Regions from separate parts of the Homo sapiens genome. Here regions 1 and 2 are each linked to region 3. Evidence: promoter capture Hi-C in 16 types of primary human blood cells and fetal thymus (Javierre and others, 2016). All regions are on one chromosome and are shown on one strand. Each heading gives the region's core, a stretch centred on a gene start or on the middle of the fragment in contact. The rest is flanking DNA. Distances are from core to core; before and after follow the strand shown. Region 1 overlaps MID2 (midline 2). Region 2 overlaps MID2 (midline 2). Region 3 holds the start of RIPPLY1 (ripply transcriptional repressor 1).

Region 1 (3,313 bases), core at 57-2,556, 1.0 Mb before region 3:
TAAAATTTTTGGTGCATCAGAATCATGAGGAGCTTGTCAAAAATGTAAATTCCTGCCTATGTTCTCAGATATTCTGGTTAGGTCAGGAGTGGGAACCCAAAATCAATTCTTTTAACAAACACTAAAGGTGATTCTAACACAGGCGGTGTGAGGACCACACTTTGAAAAACACTGCTATACAATGTGATTATTGCTGAGAGAGGGGGATGCTTGGGGTGTCTTTGGATCTCTAAAGAGGGATGCATCATCAAGTCTAAGGAATAAAGAGTTAGTCTGGTTGAGAGAGATAGAGGTGAGGAAAGGTAGTCCAGGATAGAGTCAAAAGTAGGGTGGGGAAATTAGATCTTTGTCCCAGGGCACTAAAATCTAAAAGACACCACAATAAATGAACAGTTTTGGAGAGCCAAGGACAAGGCAAAGGAAATTGTTCTACTGGAATGGAGGTTGCATTTTCTGTACTTACAGCATTTTCACACTATTCCTTTAATTTAAGAAAAATTTCTGTTGTTTACTCTGGGCATTAAAATTGTTAATCATGTTTCTGCTGCAGGCCCAGAGAATAACTTGTGTGAATAGTTGTGTAAATAGTTAAACTTGGCTACCTTAATCAATGTGAGGGGGAAAGTGGCAAAAGATTAAGCTGTGTAAGCAAACAGGGACATGAAAACCCAGACTCTGTAAGGAGTTGGGACCTTCTACTGGGTGCTAAGGGAGCCAGTGAAAAGTTTGATGAAGGGGAAAAAAATCATTTTTTTTTGTTTAAGAATTTGGGGATATGCCCTAGGGAAGAGACAAAGGTGACTGAGAAATGAAGGAGAAATGAAGGACATACATTTTAAAGCACTGTTACGCTGTATTGGAGCTGGGAGTAAGGAAAGAGATTAATATTTATGGCACACTTAGGAAATGTCAAGCGCTGAGCTAAGACAGTTTACATATGCTATCTTTTTTAACCTTTGAAACAGCCTTGTGAAGTAGACATTATTTTACAGAGGAGGAAACAGGCTCAGAGAAGTGAGGTACTTGTCCTAGGTCACAACGCTAATAAATGGTACAGAAACTAGGATCATTTGAATCCAAAGGTTATGAGCTTTCCACTACAGCAAACTATTTACCAGCACTGATGAATTTTACTGAGGTTGTTCATTTCCTGATTAGCAGTAAGCACATATGGTATTTAAAATCAAAAAAGATGACATTGCTGCTAGATTTATATTTTTGAGCCTTCCTTGTGTGTCTGCATCAGTCTTGCCTTCCACATTAAGTGAACAAACAATACATAACTGTTATTGGGGAGGATTATATACTTTGTTTCTTCCACAGAATAGTAAGCCATTTGGCAGCAGGTAGAGCATTTTGTTAATATGTGCACTCCCATGGCAGTAGTTTGGTACCTGGCATCTAATAGTTTATTGAATGAATTAATAAATGAGCATCCACCAAACTAGGGGAAAGGAAGAGGGGAGTTTTGACATTTCAAGTCTCCAATCTGAGGGAGTTGTTATGGCTACCACTTTGTAATTTTACAACAGTAATATTTTCACAAATCCCAGAAGACTTCCGAAGCCAACTTAGCTCCTGGAAAGGGGAAAGCTCTGGCTCTCTGACATCCCCAATCCCTTCGATGGAAATTTAAAAAAAAAAATCATAGACTACAAGGCTCCATTCCCTTCAACTATACTGGTTAGGACTGGGATGAAGTTTGTCTCCATTTGCGTGGAGGGATTGGCTAAGAGAATGAATACTGTAAACAAGATTGCAAAAGGAATGATTATTTATCCTATTTAAGAAAACAAACTGTTTTCAGACATTCTTGAGCACTTCAGAAGTGTTTTATCTGAAAAAGCAAGTACATTTATATGGGAATAGTTGGTGCATCAATAATACTCAATTTTTACTGATTAAGTAAAGTAGGTTCCTAAAGAGCCTTCACTGTGCAACTTTTTAAAAGCCTAATTCTCATAACTGTGTGTACTTGGGAGTAGTAAAACTTTTTTTTTAATAGTCTATGACAGAATTTTTAACAATTCAGATGGCCATCCTCAAGTAGGTAGCATCACTTCTACCTGATCAATTTTCTATCCAGCAACAGCATCTCTTGTGCAATCTTGTCTGTAAATCTCTGCTAATCCAATAAAGCTCTTCCCATTATCTGTGTCATGGTTGCATGTGTATGTGTGCGTGACAGGAGGGAGGAAGGCAATGATGGATAGAGGGAGGAAATAAATGTTGATTGATTTTGATGTTTCCTTTAGGGGACAAAAATGGATGGTGTAACTTATTTTCCCTTCCAGTATATTTCTCACTCAAATTAGCAAATTAAAAAGTTTTTTGTTCTAGTTCGAGGTGGTGTTTGGAAAAAAAAGTTTTTTGTGTATATGTAATATATAAAGTGAATATGCATAAACATACATACACAAGTGAATATATATAAAGTACATATATGTTCACTTTATATATTACATATACACATTCATGGTTTCCTAACAAACCCTTGATGATAGGTTTTCATCAAAAGTAAAATATAATATGTGATAATTTGACACTGTTCAAAATTCTACATGGCCAAACTGGCCAGTACTAGAAAGGCTGACCACCCCCCGCTCTGGCTTGCTAGCTCCTTATTCAGGGCACCTTTCCACATTATTTAACTAGAATTACCCTAATTGCTTCCAATATAATTTATATTCTTAAATCATTGGGAATTTTTAATTCTCCAATGACAACAGAGGCATTTTCTAAATTTTTCTCCAATGGCTTGAACGCAGACTACTCAGATAATTTGTTCTGAAAAACTCAATAAATTAATTCAAATACAAGCTTTAATGCACAAAAATTAAATCTGCAATATCTAGTTATTTTGGATGCTTCAAACAAACTTTATTTTGTGTCTCGTATATTGAACGCTAACTTAGGTGTAGGAGGGGAAGAACTGCTGAACTAGAGAGCCAGTGAATTATATACTCTCCTGAAACTTAATGACAGGTTTTCATCCCAGAAACATAAGGGGATTCTTGAGGCCTGCAGTTGCATTCCTGCCGCTCAGGGTAATCAATAAAATCTGGGGCAGGCAAGCCAGACAGGATCATTAGGGATTTGTTCCAGATTGTAAATGTTGGACAAACTGGAAGAATGAAGGTCACATCAAAAGTATGAAGATGGAGAGAGTTAGCTGGGTCATAGAAAGACAGCATATTGTTGTCATAATCCAGGAGGACACCCAGACGCTTCAGGTGTGGGGGCACATCCACCAGCATTTCCTTGTTGTTGTGTCTCACCACGAAGTTACTATTGCAGCGAGAGAAGACCCATG
Region 2 (3,067 bases), core at 212-2,711, 1.0 Mb before region 3:
AAGATTCACTGAGTGCCCAGGAAAAATGAATGACAAAAAGTCCACAACGCGCCAGACACGGTGGCTCACACCTGTAATCTCAGCACTTTGGGAGGCCAAGGTGGGCAGATCACTGGAGATCAGGAGTTCGAGACCACCCTGGCCAACATGGTGAAACCACATCTCTACTAAAAATACCAAAATTAGCCGGGCGTAATGGCGTGAGCCTGTAGTCCCAGCTACCAGGGAGGCTGAGGCAGAAGAATCACTTGAATCTGGGAGGCAGAGATTGCAGTGAGCTGAGATCGTGCCACTGCACTCCAGCCTGGGCAACAGAACAAGAAGAAAGAAAGAAGGAAAGAGAGAGAGAGGGAGAAAGAGAGAGGGAAAGGAAAGGAAAGGAAAGGAAAGGAAAGGAAAGGAAAGGAAAGGAAAGGAAAGGAAAGGAAAGGAAAATCTATAACAGAGGCAAATCTTGATGAAATTTCAGAAAAACTGGGTTAAAGATAAGATCTTTAAAACTTCTAGATCGTAATGGCTATTATTAAAAGGAGGAAGGATAAGTGCTGGTGAGGATGTAGAGAAAAGGGAACCCTTATACATTGTTGGTGGGAATATAAATTAGTACAGCCATTATAAAAAACAGTATGGAGGTTCCTCAAAAAACTAAAAATAGAACTACTGTAGGATCCAGCAATCCCACTAGTCAGTATATATCCAAAGAAGTTGAAATCAATATGTCAAAGAAATATCTGCATTCCCATGTTCACTGAAGCATTATTCAGAATAGCCAAGATATGGTATCTACCTAAGTTTCTATCAATGGATGAATGGATAAAGAAAATGTGGTATAGATACATAATGTAATACCTTTCAGCCACTGAAGTTGGAGGAAATCCTGTTATCCTTGACAGCATAAATGAACCTGGAGGATGTATGCTAAGTAAAATAAGCCAGGCACAGAAAGACAAATACCATATGATCTCGCACATAGGTGGAATCTGAAAAAATCAAACTCATAGAAATAGAGAGTAGAATGGTGGTTACTAGAGGCTGGTATGAGGAGGGAATGGGGAGTTGTTGGACAAAGGGTATAAAGTTTCAGTTAGACAGGAGGAATAAGTTTCTGAGATCTGTTGTGCAGCAGTGTGAATATAATCAATAATAACATATTGTATGTTTCAAAATAGCTAAAAGAGTAAATCTCAATGGCTGACCACAAAAAATGGTGAGGTAATGGATATGTTAATTGGCTTTGATTAGTCATTCCACATTGTATGCATATATGAAAACATCACATTGCAACCCATTAATGTATACAACTATGATTTGTCAATTAAAAGTAATATTAACTTTTGTTTAAGCTTCTGGATTTTAAAACATAGGTTATATTCAAAAGATCTGGATTCAAAACGGCAGTGAACGTCTCAACACAATAATGGAAGCCAGGAGACAATGAAGTCATGCCTTCAAAATTTATTTCCAACCTATCAAGTGTGAAAATTAACTTGAAATATTTTTAGGCAAAAAGTTCTTGAAAATTTACTTCCCATGTACTCTTTCTTAAGAAACTACAGGAGCGTTTGTTTGAAAAGCTTAAGGGAATCAAGTGGTACAGGAAGGGGAAATCCAGGCAGAGCCCAATGAGTTCCCTAAAATTAAGGAGACAGAGCTGAGAATCCAAGTGGACGAAGTTGGCTGGAGTTCACAGGACATAGTACCAGAGAGGAAAAAGCTGCAGAGAGAATTCTAGAGACCTTCAGAGTTTCCCTCTAGTAGTCAACAGAATACTGATCAACAAATGCATGCGAGGAAACTGCATAATGCTGGGGAAAGAGCCACCCAAAAAGATAAGAGGGAACAATCCCTGGTACTCACATAGGTCTAGCAATAGTGTGTGTTCCTACCAGCTAAACTGGAAAATCTCATGACTCACAGGACACTGGAATAGAGTACTCAGAAGGGTTTTGCCTCAGTAGTGGAGAAAAATTGTCTCTAGACTAAACATTGCTCTGATCTCACCTATCAAATCTGAAAACCAAGACTTGAAAGGATCAAGCTGTTTTCAAGTAACTTAACTGTGTCTCAGAACAAAGTTTAAGAATATTTATAGGAATACAAAAATATACAGCATCCCGAAAGAGAAAATTAACAAGTCTGATATCCAGTAAAAAATTACCTGATAGGCAAAAAATCAAGAAAATACAATCCATAATGAGAAGAAAAGGCAACCAATTGAAACGGACCCAGATATGACACAGGTATTAGAATTAGCAAGCAAGGACATAAAAGCAATTATTTTAACTGTATTCCATATGTTCAGAAAGCTAGAGGAAAGGCTAAATATCTTTTTTTGTTTTCAGAGACAAGACATTGTCCTGTTGCCCAGGCTGGAGTGCAGTGGCAGCATCGTGACCCACTGTACCCTTGAACTCCTGGGCTCAGAAGATCCTCTTGCTTCAGCCTCCCAAGTAGCTAGGACTACAGGCACATGTCACCAGATGCAGGCTTTTTTTTTTTTTTTTTTAGATGGAATCTCGCTATGTTGCCCAGGCTGGTCTCAAGTGATCTTCCCACCTCAGCCTCCCAGAGTGCTGTGATTAAAGGTGTGAGCCACCACACCCAGCCTGAATATCTTGAGATATGGAAGACATTTTTTAAAAGACCCAAATCAAACTAGAGATGAAAGTTATAATATCTAAGATAAAAAATACACTGGAGGGGTTAACAGCAGATTAGGTATCACAGAAGAAAAGGCTAGTGAACTTGAAGATATATCAATAGAAGCTATCCAAAATGAAACACACTTGCATGTGTTTTCACAATGGCAAAAAAATAAAAAGACTGCAAAACAAAAATAGAGCATTGGTAAGCTATAGGACAATTTCAGACAGCCAAATATACATGTAATTGGAATCCCGAATAGAGAGGAAGGAAGTGGCATAAAAATATTTGTAGAAGTAGTGGCAGAAAAAAAGTCCAAATTTGCAGAAGTTAATTGATACTGTCTAAAGTTGAAAAAAATTAAAACTACCAATGTAAGGATGTTATTTAGAAATGTAAGGTCATGCCAATAAAAACATCTGAT
Region 3 (3,121 bases), core at 194-2,693:
ATTCTTCTACCATGCCAATTTTAATATGAAATTGTGTAACTGCCCAATGATTTATCTAACCAGCTTTTAAAAGTTGTTTTCAATTTTCCTTTGCTGAAAAGAACATAGTGGGACTAGAATTGGAAGTGGGGTGAAGATGGGGGGTAGGTGAACAGAGAAATGAGGAGCCCTTAAATTAGTCATGCTATCTTACCATCTGATTTTTTTTTCCATTTTCTGTGTTGAAAAATTATACTTCCCAGAACATGATTGTGAGCACCTGCTTGGCATTCAGTTGCAAGGATTTGCCCTAATTAATGTAACTGGTTTCCTATTATTGGACATTGAAGTTGTTTCTAATTTTTGACCATTACAAACCAGACTGTGATGAACATCCAAGAAGCTAAATCTGTGCTGGGGCTGGACACTGAGGTCAGGAGGAATATTTTCGAGACCTCTGAAGCATAAGGTCCCTGCCAGTAGTTGTAACTAGAAGCTTTCTGGCAAAGGCCCAGAAGGCTGGCTAAGGCCGAGGACTGTGCTCAGGCCTCTGGGCTTGCCCGGGTTCAGTACCCATTTATGTAGCCCCTGTCAGAGAGTGTTCAGGCTGGCATGGTCCTATGAGACCACTGGGCCAGCACCCTCATCTCTTACATGAGGGAACTGAGGCCTGGGGCTGGGGCTGGTCCTTCGGCAGCTCTGTAGTCGGGCAGAACTTTGCCTCTCCCCAGCACCCTGGCTTCTGAACTGGAAGCTAAGCTCTGAGGTTTGGAATCTCACCCAGAGGCCCTGTGAAATCCTGCCTGCTCTCCTTCACTGGACCACTTACTGCTGAGGCTGGAGGGGGCACTTTGACAAATGAACTGATCAGTAAGGGGCTGAGGGGCATTGAAAGAAGACTTAAGGTTTACCCAACAAGCATCTGGGCCTGCTCTGCCCAGAATGCCCCTTTTTTCCCTAACCCAGATGATATGCTTAATGGCAGTCACCCTACATTCAGGTCCACCTGGCAAATCTATCTGAGGTTGAGCTGAAATAACAAGTGAGTCCCTCACTCTCCTTAAAGGGGTCAGCTGTCTCTTCTTGCCAGGAACTGGCTTAGTTAAAGGCCTGTCTATTCAGCCCTCTGTCCCTGACATCTCTGTGGTTTCAGAGTGCTAATGAGCTCCTCTCCTTCCCCTCTCAGGCCTTGCTACTCCCTGGGGAATTCACACAAATGGTGTGCGATTTGCCCCTTCTGTGTTTTTCTTTCTGACTTGGAGGCAAAGCAAATCCCTCACCTCCCACTGACACCATGTTTATTCAACTGGGAGAGATTTCACACCCAGGTAACCCAGCTTTCCCTCCCTGAGCCCCTTCCCTAAATCTTTATCCCCCTCCCAAGTCATCCCACCCCTGTCCTCCCTGAATAATTTATAAGACCAGGCAGGGCTTATAAAAGGGTCTCCCAGGAAAAGCCAAAAGAGTGCAGAAGGTTCTGGGAAGTAGGAGACCCCACTGGCTTTGGTCCCCTAAGAATGGACTCTGCTGCCTGTGCTGCTGCTGCCACCCCTGTTCCAGCCCTGGCTTTGGCCCTAGCTCCAGACCTAGCACAAGCCCCACTGGCACTCCCTGGCCTGTTAAGCCCATCTTGCCTTCTCTCCTCTGGACAAGAAGTAAATGGGAGTGAAAGGTAAGTTGAGCTTAGCCTTTGGCAACCTGAACTTAGGCTTGAGAGCTTCCTGAGAGAGGAAGGAAAATGAGATGTCCAGGGCACCCTGTTCTCTGTGAAGGGGAAAAGCAATGGCCTCATAGCCCTCCCTCCTCAACTCTAGCTGGAATATCTCATCTGACTTTTCACCTCACTAATCCCGCTGGGTGGCAAGAGGGGACTTGGGGACAGCTGTTGCCAAAGCTGAAGGTGAAGCAGCCAGGTCCTCATAGGCCAGGTGGCTGAGTCCCCTGAGGGGGATGGGGAACTGCCATGAAACCTGGGCTTAACACAATCTAGACTGTGGGGGTGGGGAGTTTGGGGAAAGAGGACCAAAGTCTAAAGAGGCCCTTGACTGGGACATTGTCTTTTTCCTGACCACGCCATAAGATTTCCATTTGCTTTTTTCCTACCTCTGCAAGTCCAGTGGGGAAGCAGTGGACCCAGGAACATTTCTGGCCCTCTTCTTCAGCCCAGGAAGATGGTAGAGCTCTGAGTTCTACATCTTGGAGCAGGAAGTAGGAGGCAAGATATTTTCCATCTAGCCCCCACTCATTACTCCAAACATTTAGTCTTCAACAAACATTTACTGAAACAGCTACTGTGTACCAGACATTGTACTAGGTGTTGAGGATTCAGATACGATTGAGCATATCTTTGAGCTTAAGAAGCCCAAAGACAAGTAAATAGACAATTACAAAACAGCATGATAAAAGCAATAATAACATTGCTGAAGCCGAGAGGAGGGACATCTGTCCTGGAATGGGCTCAGGAGCCTTAGGAAAGGCTTCCTGGAGCAGATGGCACCTGAGCCAAGCTTTTGGGAGGTCTCTTGTTATCTCAGGGAGCCCACCTTTCAGTCTCTTCCTCTACGGATTGATCTCTCCTCTTTGTCCCAGAGGAACTTGTCTCTGGAGGCCCTGGCTGTCTTCCACAAATGACTCCCCAAGGCAGATGAGGAAGCTGGTGGATTTGGTGAGTTCGAGCCCTTGTGACGTGTGTTCACATGCAGCCACATGCATTAACAGTGACCAGGTCACTTCCCAGAGAGCCCCTGACCTCAGTCCAAAGGTGCAGATCTGAGATAGCATCCTCACAGTTTTGCCAACATTTGATTCCAACAGAGAGCAGATCCAAGCTTTCTGTGGCAATTGGAAAGATGAGGAGACCAAAGCTCAGAGTGGGCAAGGGATCTGGGCAGGCCCCACAGCCAGTGTGTGGCAGTGCTGGTGCTTGAGGCCTCGTCTCCTGGCACCTTACTCCAGTGCTCTCCCACCCACCCGATCTCCCTGAATCTTTGCTGCTCCAGTAGAACACTGTCCCCTGGAGAGCCTCCAAACAGGTGCTGGAACAGAGGCAGGGAAGCAAACAACCCGCAGGACTCTGTCTGCTTGTTTTTCAACCAGAACCAAGAGAGACCCCTTGTTGAGGGGTGGGTATTGGGGGTTGCTG

Evidence for each region. Contacts are between HindIII fragments. The CHiCAGO score rates a contact against its expected background, and 5 or more counts as called.
Region 1: a fragment that was not itself captured here is called in contact with the fragment with the promoter of RIPPLY1 in region 3 in 1 of 17 cell types (naive B cells); the score reaches 5.7 in naive B cells.
Region 2: a fragment that was not itself captured here is called in contact with the fragment with the promoter of RIPPLY1 in region 3 in 6 of 17 cell types (naive B cells, naive CD4 T cells, monocytes and 3 more); the score reaches 7.1 in naive B cells.

Annotation. Positions count from the first base shown.
Region 1 is chrX:107,926,736-107,930,048 of GRCh38, reverse strand. MID2 (midline 2) reads right to left here. Exons shown (of 10, transcript NM_012216.4): 10 at 1-3,313. The coding sequence ends at 2,976. The region is part of intron 3 of LOC101928335 (a long non-coding RNA gene); the gene reads left to right. Among named protein-coding and RNA genes, the nearest start is that of TEX13B, 54 kb to the left of the region's middle. The HindIII fragment of the contact is 3,033 bases long and covers 1-2,822 here.
Region 2 is chrX:107,908,136-107,911,202 of GRCh38, reverse strand. The region is part of intron 5 of MID2 (midline 2); the gene reads right to left. All of the region lies in intron 3 of LOC101928335 (a long non-coding RNA gene), which reads left to right. Among named protein-coding and RNA genes, the nearest start is that of TEX13B, 73 kb to the left of the region's middle. The HindIII fragment of the contact is 231 bases long and covers 1,346-1,576 here.
Region 3 is chrX:106,901,663-106,904,783 of GRCh38, reverse strand. RIPPLY1 (ripply transcriptional repressor 1) reads left to right here and starts at 1,443. Exons shown (of 4, transcript NM_138382.3): 1 at 1,443-1,651; 2 at 2,569-2,644. The coding sequence starts at 1,497. It also overlaps a transcript of CLDN2 not described here. The HindIII fragment of the contact is 2,011 bases long and covers 478-2,488 here.